Regions from separate parts of the Homo sapiens genome. Here region 2 is linked to region 1. The links are contacts of gene promoters, found by promoter capture Hi-C in human tissues and cell types (Jung and others, 2019). All regions are on one chromosome and are shown on one strand. Each heading gives the region's core, a stretch centred on a gene start or on the middle of the fragment in contact. The rest is flanking DNA. Distances are from core to core; before and after follow the strand shown. Region 1 holds the start of EEFSEC (eukaryotic elongation factor, selenocysteine-tRNA specific). Region 2 overlaps LOC90246 (a long non-coding RNA gene).

The links. The method cuts DNA at HindIII sites, captures the fragments that hold promoters and counts their contacts. A contact is called where the count stands out against the background at its distance.
Region 2: a contact is called between a fragment that was not itself captured here and the fragment with the promoter of EEFSEC in region 1, in 1 of the 25 tissues and cell types used here (mesenchymal stem cells).

Annotation. Positions count from the first base shown.
Region 1 is chr3:128,151,349-128,155,037 of GRCh38, reverse strand. It overlaps EEFSEC (eukaryotic elongation factor, selenocysteine-tRNA specific), which reads right to left and starts at 1,557. Exons shown (of 7, transcript NM_021937.5): 1 at 1,215-1,557. The coding sequence starts at 1,530. It also overlaps a transcript of RUVBL1 not described here. RefSeq lists a silencer at 1,047-1,566 and an enhancer at 1,697-1,926. The HindIII fragment of the contact is 4,118 bases long and covers 1-1,944 here.
Region 2 is chr3:128,509,218-128,512,906 of GRCh38, reverse strand. It overlaps LOC90246 (a long non-coding RNA gene), which reads right to left. Exons shown (of 1, transcript NR_026954.1): 1 at 2,312-3,689. Among named protein-coding and RNA genes, the nearest start is that of GATA2, 18 kb to the right of the region's middle. The HindIII fragment of the contact is 6,617 bases long and covers 1-3,689 here.

The DNA of each region.
Region 1 (3,689 bases), core at 308-2,807:
ATGTTTGTCTTATTTGTGATGTTCTATTTCTTCACAAGTAGCATGTATTCATGTATTACATGTATAATTAAAAATTAATGGTACCTCTTTGTGGGGCATTTTGGCAGTACCCACCACGACCGAAAACACACATGCCCCTTGCCCCAGCCAGTTATTATCTATTATCCTACATATATGCGAACATACCAAAGAGTTCTGTTCTAGAATATTCACTGCAAAATGGTTTGTAAATACTGGAAACAGCATAAACGTCCATCATTAAAAGATTTGTTCAGAAAATGTTGGTACAGGCCGGACGTGGTGGCTCACGCCTGTAATCCCAGGACTTTGGGAGGCCAGGGCGGGCGGGTCATGAAGTCAGGAGTTTGAGACCAGCCTGACCAACATGGTGAAACCCGTCTCTACTGAAAATACAAAAAAATTAGCCGGGCGTGGTGGCGCGCGCCTGTAATCCCAGCTACTCAGGAGACTGAGGCAGGACAATCGCTTGAACCCAGGAGGCGGAAGTTGCAGTGAGCCGAGATCGTGCCACTGCACTCCAGGCTGGGCGACAGAACAAGACTCTGTCTCAAAAAGAAAAAAAAAAAAAGAAAAAGAAAATGTTGGTACAAGGGTGCAGTTGAATTCTATGTGAGCTTTAAAAAGAATGATGTAGCTTTGTGTACAGATATGGGGCACTCTCCAGACACAATGTTGAGTGAAATCGTGTCTAAAAGGATGAGGGAAAGAGGGATTTATACATACACACAGATATGCTTGTATTGACGTGGAGCCTTTCTGAAATGATATACAAAAACTGGTAGCAGCGGTTGGCTCTAGGAACGGGAATCAGACCAAATGACAGGTGAATGAAGACAGCCTTTGTATGTATACCCTTTTTGTAGCTTGTGAGTTTTCTTATTTTGAGTTTTCTTTACTTGACCATGTATTATAAACACATTTGGTAGGGATTTTTTGATTTTTTTTTTTTTTTTTTTTTAAGGAAGGCGCCTTGCAGCTCGGTTCTGCTGGATGGGAAAAGCTGAATCTCAAAGCCTCCGCTCACTTGCTGCGGAGCCCTAGGCAAGTCACGTCCGCCTCTTGGGGCGTCAGGAGCCCCACCAATGAGGTGGGGCGATTTCCCGTCCCGGCAAAGGCTCGAGCGAATTCGGACACGGGGCCCGGTCGCTCCGCCCGCGTCCCTGAGCCCGGCTCCCGCCCCGGCCCGCGCTCACCGCCGATGATGGTCCGGATGAGGGAGGCGTGCCCGGGGCAGTCGACCAGCGTGACCTGAAGCAGTGGCTCGCCGGGCTCGGGCTCGGCCTCGGGCGCTGCCTGGAACTCGGGCAAAGACGACCGCAGGCGCGCGGGCAGCGGCACCGAGAAGCACGAGAAGCCCAGATCGAGCGTGATGCCGCGCTCGCGGCTCTGCGGCTGCTTGTCAAAGGCGGCGGTGGAGGCTGTGGTGCTTAGCGCCCGCGCCAGCGCCGTCTTGCCGCTGTCGATGTGGCCCAGCACGCCCACGTTCACGTTCACCCGCCGCCCTGCCATGCCGCCGCCGCCGCCTCGGACACCCGCCCGGCCCGCCCCTCACCTCCCTCGGTAGTCGCCGCGGTCCGGCCCGTTAAGTTGCCCCCCCGTAACCGGCGCGCTGTGCACACCCGTTCCGGCCCGGAAGCTTCCGCCCTCCTGAGGCTCACGGGCACAGCCGAGCGCCGTGCTCCGAGTGGGTGGTCTAGGAACTGGAGGTCACCGTAGGCAGGGTTTCTCTCTCACGTGGCTCCTCCTGCCTGAAGCCTCTAGGAGCCCGAGATGGAGGGATCCTTCTGAGAAGTGAAGCCATTTGGACTTTCTGGGTGAGTGGAGACTTGGAGAACTTTTCTATAGCTATCAAGAGGATTGTAAAATGCACCAATCAGCGCTCTGTAAAACGCACCAATCAGTGCTCTGTAACATGCACCAATCAGCAGGATCCTAAAAGAAGCCAATCACAGGGAGGATTGAAAAAAGGGCGCTCTGATAGGACAAAAACGGAACATGGGGGGGCGAAGGGGGGCGGGGGGGGCGGGGTGGGCGGGGGGAAGACGGGGGCGGGGGGGGCGGGAAGACGGGGGCGGGGGGGAGGGCGGGGGGACGGCGGGGGGCGGGGGAGGGCGGGGGGACGTGGGGGAGGGGGCAAATAAGGGAATAAAAGCTGGCCACCCCCGCCAGCAGCAGCAACCCTCTCAGGTGCCCTTTCGCATTGCAGAAGCTTTTTGCTCTTCACAATAAATCTTGCTGCTGCTCACTCTTTGGGACTGTGCCATCTTTAAGAGCTTTAACACTCACTGCGAAGGTCCGCGGCTCCATTCTTGAAGTCAGCGAGACTAGGAACCCACTGGAAGAAACCAACTCCGGACACACTTCCAATCATTCATACATTTCAGCAAGATCTTACCAAGTGCCTGGTGGGTTCCGCTGGGCTACAGTGCCCGCTAATATTACATTCAGGGGGTGAGGGCTAAGTCAAACAATACAGCCTGAACCAGACCATTTCAGAGAGCGAGAAGTCTCCTAGGGAAAATAAAAGCTGAGATAAAAAGGAGCAGGAGAGGGAGGATGGACAGCTACCTAACTGTGGGTCAGGGAAGACATCTAGGAGTTGCTGTTTGAGTTGAAACTCCAGTGTTGAGAAGGAGCCAACCATGGGAAAAGATGGTTTGAAGATGGAAGAGGACAACATTATCTCTGACTCAGAAATTCTCACCCTGAGAGTCTGTAGCCTGGGCTTAGGAGAGGCCACAAACCTCTAAATTGAACGCACAATGTGTTGTGATGTGCTCTTGCTAGACAGAGGGTCGACAACTCTCACTAGATTCTGAAGTGTCTAGAACCACAAAAAAGGTTGTCAGCCATAGTCACCAACCAGAGGTAACAAACCTAAGTGTCTGCTCTGGCCAGGTGGTGGGTAAATCAAAGAAGAGAAGTTAAAAGAGTCTAAGATGACAGGGAGTGGTGGGGACCTGGGAGACCTGGAGAGCCCTTTTCCTGTGCAAAGAGGGAAGCCACTGCTCAGTCTCAGCCAGTGATACCAGGCAGGAATGCTAGCCCAACATTGCCTCCTCCTTCCATTTTTCTGGAGAAGAGAGTGTTTTTGTAACACTGTGGCGGTGGAGCACAAAGTTCACAGGATCTTACCTTTGCCCTCTGTGATGAGCCAGACCATGTGCGGATGTATTCATGCTTGCAGTAACTGCCTCCTTCGTTCCACCACTCTCCACTAGGAACAGAGTCCATGTCATAGACTGAATTGTGTCCCTCTCAAATTCATATGTGGACACCCTGACCCCCAGTGTGATAGTATTTGGAGATGGGACGTTTGGGAGGTTAGATGAGATCATGAGAGCGGGCCCTTGTGATGGGATTAGGGTCCTTACAAGAAGAGAACAGAATCTTTGTTTCCGTTTTCCCACCTTGCAAATAGGAAACTGTAAAAATACGCCTCCCATTAAAAAAAATCTAGTAGTAAAAGCAGTAAACGTATTTAAAAGGGAGGGTTAGTAAATAGGTAATAAGAGCTTTAGAGGCTTTATGTACCTCTGAGAAATATTTCAACTAACAAAGACTTTGTACAGGGCCTGGCTTCAAATAAACCTCATTTCTTACCTCTGTTTTAAACAGAATCCTGAAATGGTAATGAAAAGAAAAAAGGTTTGGCTGGGCACGGTGGT
Region 2 (3,689 bases), core at 600-3,099, 360 kb before region 1:
GGACATATATATATATATATATATATACACATAATATCATACACGGTTTTAAAATATGAATGGGGCCATAATATGTCTATTATTCTAAAATTTGATTTTAAATACTCAATTTTTTTAGAGCAGTTTTAGGTTCTCTGCAAAATTGGGAAGAAGGTACAGAGAGTTCCCATATATACACTCCCTGCTCCCCCACTGAAGTAGCTGTGGAGTGACTTGTAAAGAAATTGTGGAAAACATTCCCTATCAGCACATAAATGAACCAATTATTTAAAAAGGTGGATGAAAAGCCATGTTGTGGTTATAATCAACATCTATTTAATCAGTCCATATTTATGGACTTAAAGATGTTTCTGGCCAGGCGTGGTGGCTCACGTCTGTAATCCCAGCACTTTGGGAGGCCGAGGCAGGCGGATCACAAGGTCAGGAGATAGAGACCATCCTGTCTAACACGGTGAAACCCTGTCTCTACTAAAAATATAACAAATTAGCCAGGCGTGGTGGTGGGTACCTGTAGTCCCAGCTACTCGGAAGGCTGAGGCAGGAGAATGGCATGAACCTGGGAGGCGGAGGTTGCAGTGAGCCGAGATCGCACCACTGCACTCCAGCCTGGGCGACAGAGTGAGACTCCATCTCAAAAAAAAAAAAAAAAAAAAAAGATGTTTCTAATGCTTTTATTGTTTTTTCATTTATTTTCTTAAGTGCTAGTATTTCTGAACACTGTATTACTAAGGGTGTGATTGTGGGTATGTACAATTTACATTAACATAGATTCCAGGCAATTGCTCTCCCAAAAAGGTTGCTTCAATTTATATTCCTGCCAATAGTGTAGAAGAATGCTTACTTTCCTGTAGGCTTGCCGTTGGATGGATATTATTGCTCTTGTTATTTGCATGAATTTTTTTTTTGCCAGTCTGCTAACTGAAAAATGGTATCTCATCATTGTTTTAAGTTTTCATTTATTTGATTATGAATAAGGGCATACTTTTCATAACTTAATTGACCACTATATTTCTTCCTGTGTGAATTGCCTATTTTGCTACTGGTTTTTTTTTCTTTTTCTTATTTTTTTTGGGAACACTTTGCATATTGTAGATATTGATTCACTGTATACATTGCAAATATTCTCTCGATCTATTTGTTTATCTTTTAAACTTGTTTACAGTATCTTCACCAGGCAGAAGTTGAAATTTTTATATAGTCCAAGGAATCCAAGGAAGCATTCACTTTTTACAGCTTCTGCTTTCTGTGCAATGCTCAGAAAATCACCTCCCACCCCAAAGTCATAAGAAAGTTGTACATTCTATCTAGCATGTAGTACATTTCAACTACAACTATAATTGTATTTTAACTACATTTTCAATTTCAACTGTATTCCTGCTTCAACTGTATTGGTGACATTTTAATACTTAATATATAAGCTAGGTGTTGGGTATATAGGTGTTTTTTATATTATTCGATCTAATTTTTTGTGTGCCTGAAGTATATATATGTATATACACACACATCTCTCTCTCTCTCTCTCTCTCTCTCTCTCTATATATATATATATATATATATATATATATGTAATTTTTTTTTGAGACAGTGTTTGGCTCTGTTGCCCAGACTGGAGTGCAGTGGTGTACTCATAGCTCACTGCAATCTTGAACTCTTGGGCTCAAGCAATCCTCCTGCCTCAGCCTCCTGAGTAGCTAGGACTACAGGCATGTACCACATAGCCTGGCTAATTTTTTTTAATTTTTATTTTTAGTAGAGAAGAGCTCTTGCTATGTTGCCCAGGCTGGTCTTGAACTCCTGGGCTCAAGCAAGCCTCCCTCTTCAGCCTCCCAAAGTGCTAGGATTACAGGTGTGAACCACCATGCCCAGACTACAATATATATATATTTAAAAATAAAGACAGGGAAATGCCTAATACATTTTTGATGGAGGCTGGGTGCGGTGGTTCATGCCTGTAATCCCAGCACTTTGGGAGGCTGAAATGGGCAGATCACTTGAGGTCAAAATTTTTTTGATGGAGTTGTACTGCCCCAAAACTTCAAGTCTGGTAAAAACAAACAAACAAGCAAACAAAAAGCAAAACAAAACACAAAAACAAGACAAAAATTTTTTTGAAAAAGTCTGTGATGTTATTTCCAAGCCCAAGCAATCTCTGCAGTCTAGAATCTGCACCATTAGGAACTGGCCACTAGAGAACTGAGATCCCCAATGCCCACTTCAGATGTGGGAATGGTGAAGGGTGGGCAGGGAGTACTCGTTTTCCTCCTAGAGGGCAGGGCTGGGCAGTTGAACTGGCTGCCCAAGAAACTCAACATTTTTTTTTTTACATCTTTATTGATGTTAAACAAATCTTTTACATCTTTATCTATATAATTCACGCACTATAAAATTCACCCATTTAAGATGAACCATTCAATGCCATTCAATGCTTTTTAGTATATTCACGCAGTTGTACATCCATCATCACATCTAAGTTTAGAACACTTTCATTGCCCCCAGAATAAACCGTGTTCCTGTTAGCAGCCACTTTCCATTCCTCCCTCCCGCCAGCCTGCAGCAACTACTAATCTGCTTTCTGTCTGGAAATGGAATCACACAAAGCCTTTTATGTCTGGCTTCTTCATTACTTTTTAGGGCCATATAATATTCCATTGTATAGCTATGCCATATTTTGTTTATCTATTCATTAGCTGATGGGCATTTGGGCTATTCCCATTTCTCAATTATTATAAATAATGCTGCTATGAACATTGTGTGCAAATTTTTCTGGGGACACATGTTTTCATTTGCCTTGGGTAGATACCCAGGAGTTGTAATCCTGGGTCCTGTGGTAGCTCAATGTCTAACATTTCTCAGTATTTTTCTAGCAGGGCTTTGGATGTGCTGCAGGCTAGGGGTCTCCCATCCTCCTTTCCCTTACTGGGGGTTGACATGGCACTTTTCCTTCCCTCTCTGCACAGGTGAGGTTGGGAGTGAGGGGGGCCTTAAGCCTAGACTGTAACACGGTCACTGGGGTCCAGCTCCTGGAGCCGGACCTGTCACTGGGAGAGACAGTGTTACCTCCAGTATTCATTTTCCATTGCTGCTGTAACAAAGTGCCACCAACTGAGCAGCTTCAAGCAACATCCATTTAGCATCACAGTTTCTGTGCACTGCAAGTCTGGGCAGAGAGTGCCTCAACTGTATTTTCTGCTTAGGGGCTTACAAGGCAAAATCGAGGTGTTGGCAGGCTGGGCTCTTTCCCGGAGGTGCTCATTAGGGTTGTGAGCAGAATTCAGTCGCTTATGATTGCAGGCCTGGGGTCTCCATTTCTTTGCTACGTGGCCTGAGGCTTCCTTTGTTTTCAAAGCAGCAGTCGCGCTTTCCATCCTTCCTTCCCAAGCTTTAAATCTCCCTTTCCCCCATGCTGTCTCTTTCCAATGTCCTTTCTACCTCTGCCACCAGCCATGGAAAGTTCTCTGCTTTTAAGGGCTTGTGTGACCCACTGAGCCCATGTGGATGATCCAAGACACTCTCCCTATTTTAAGGTCAACTGACGAGCAGCCTTAATTACATCTGCAAAGTCTCTTTTGCTACGTGAGGTAACAAATTCATGGGCATTGACAGTTTCCAAGGATGAGGGTGGCATCTGTGGGGAGCTGTGCATACATCTGTGCTGCCTAGCACACCTCCCCCAGAGGGAGCATGGGAAG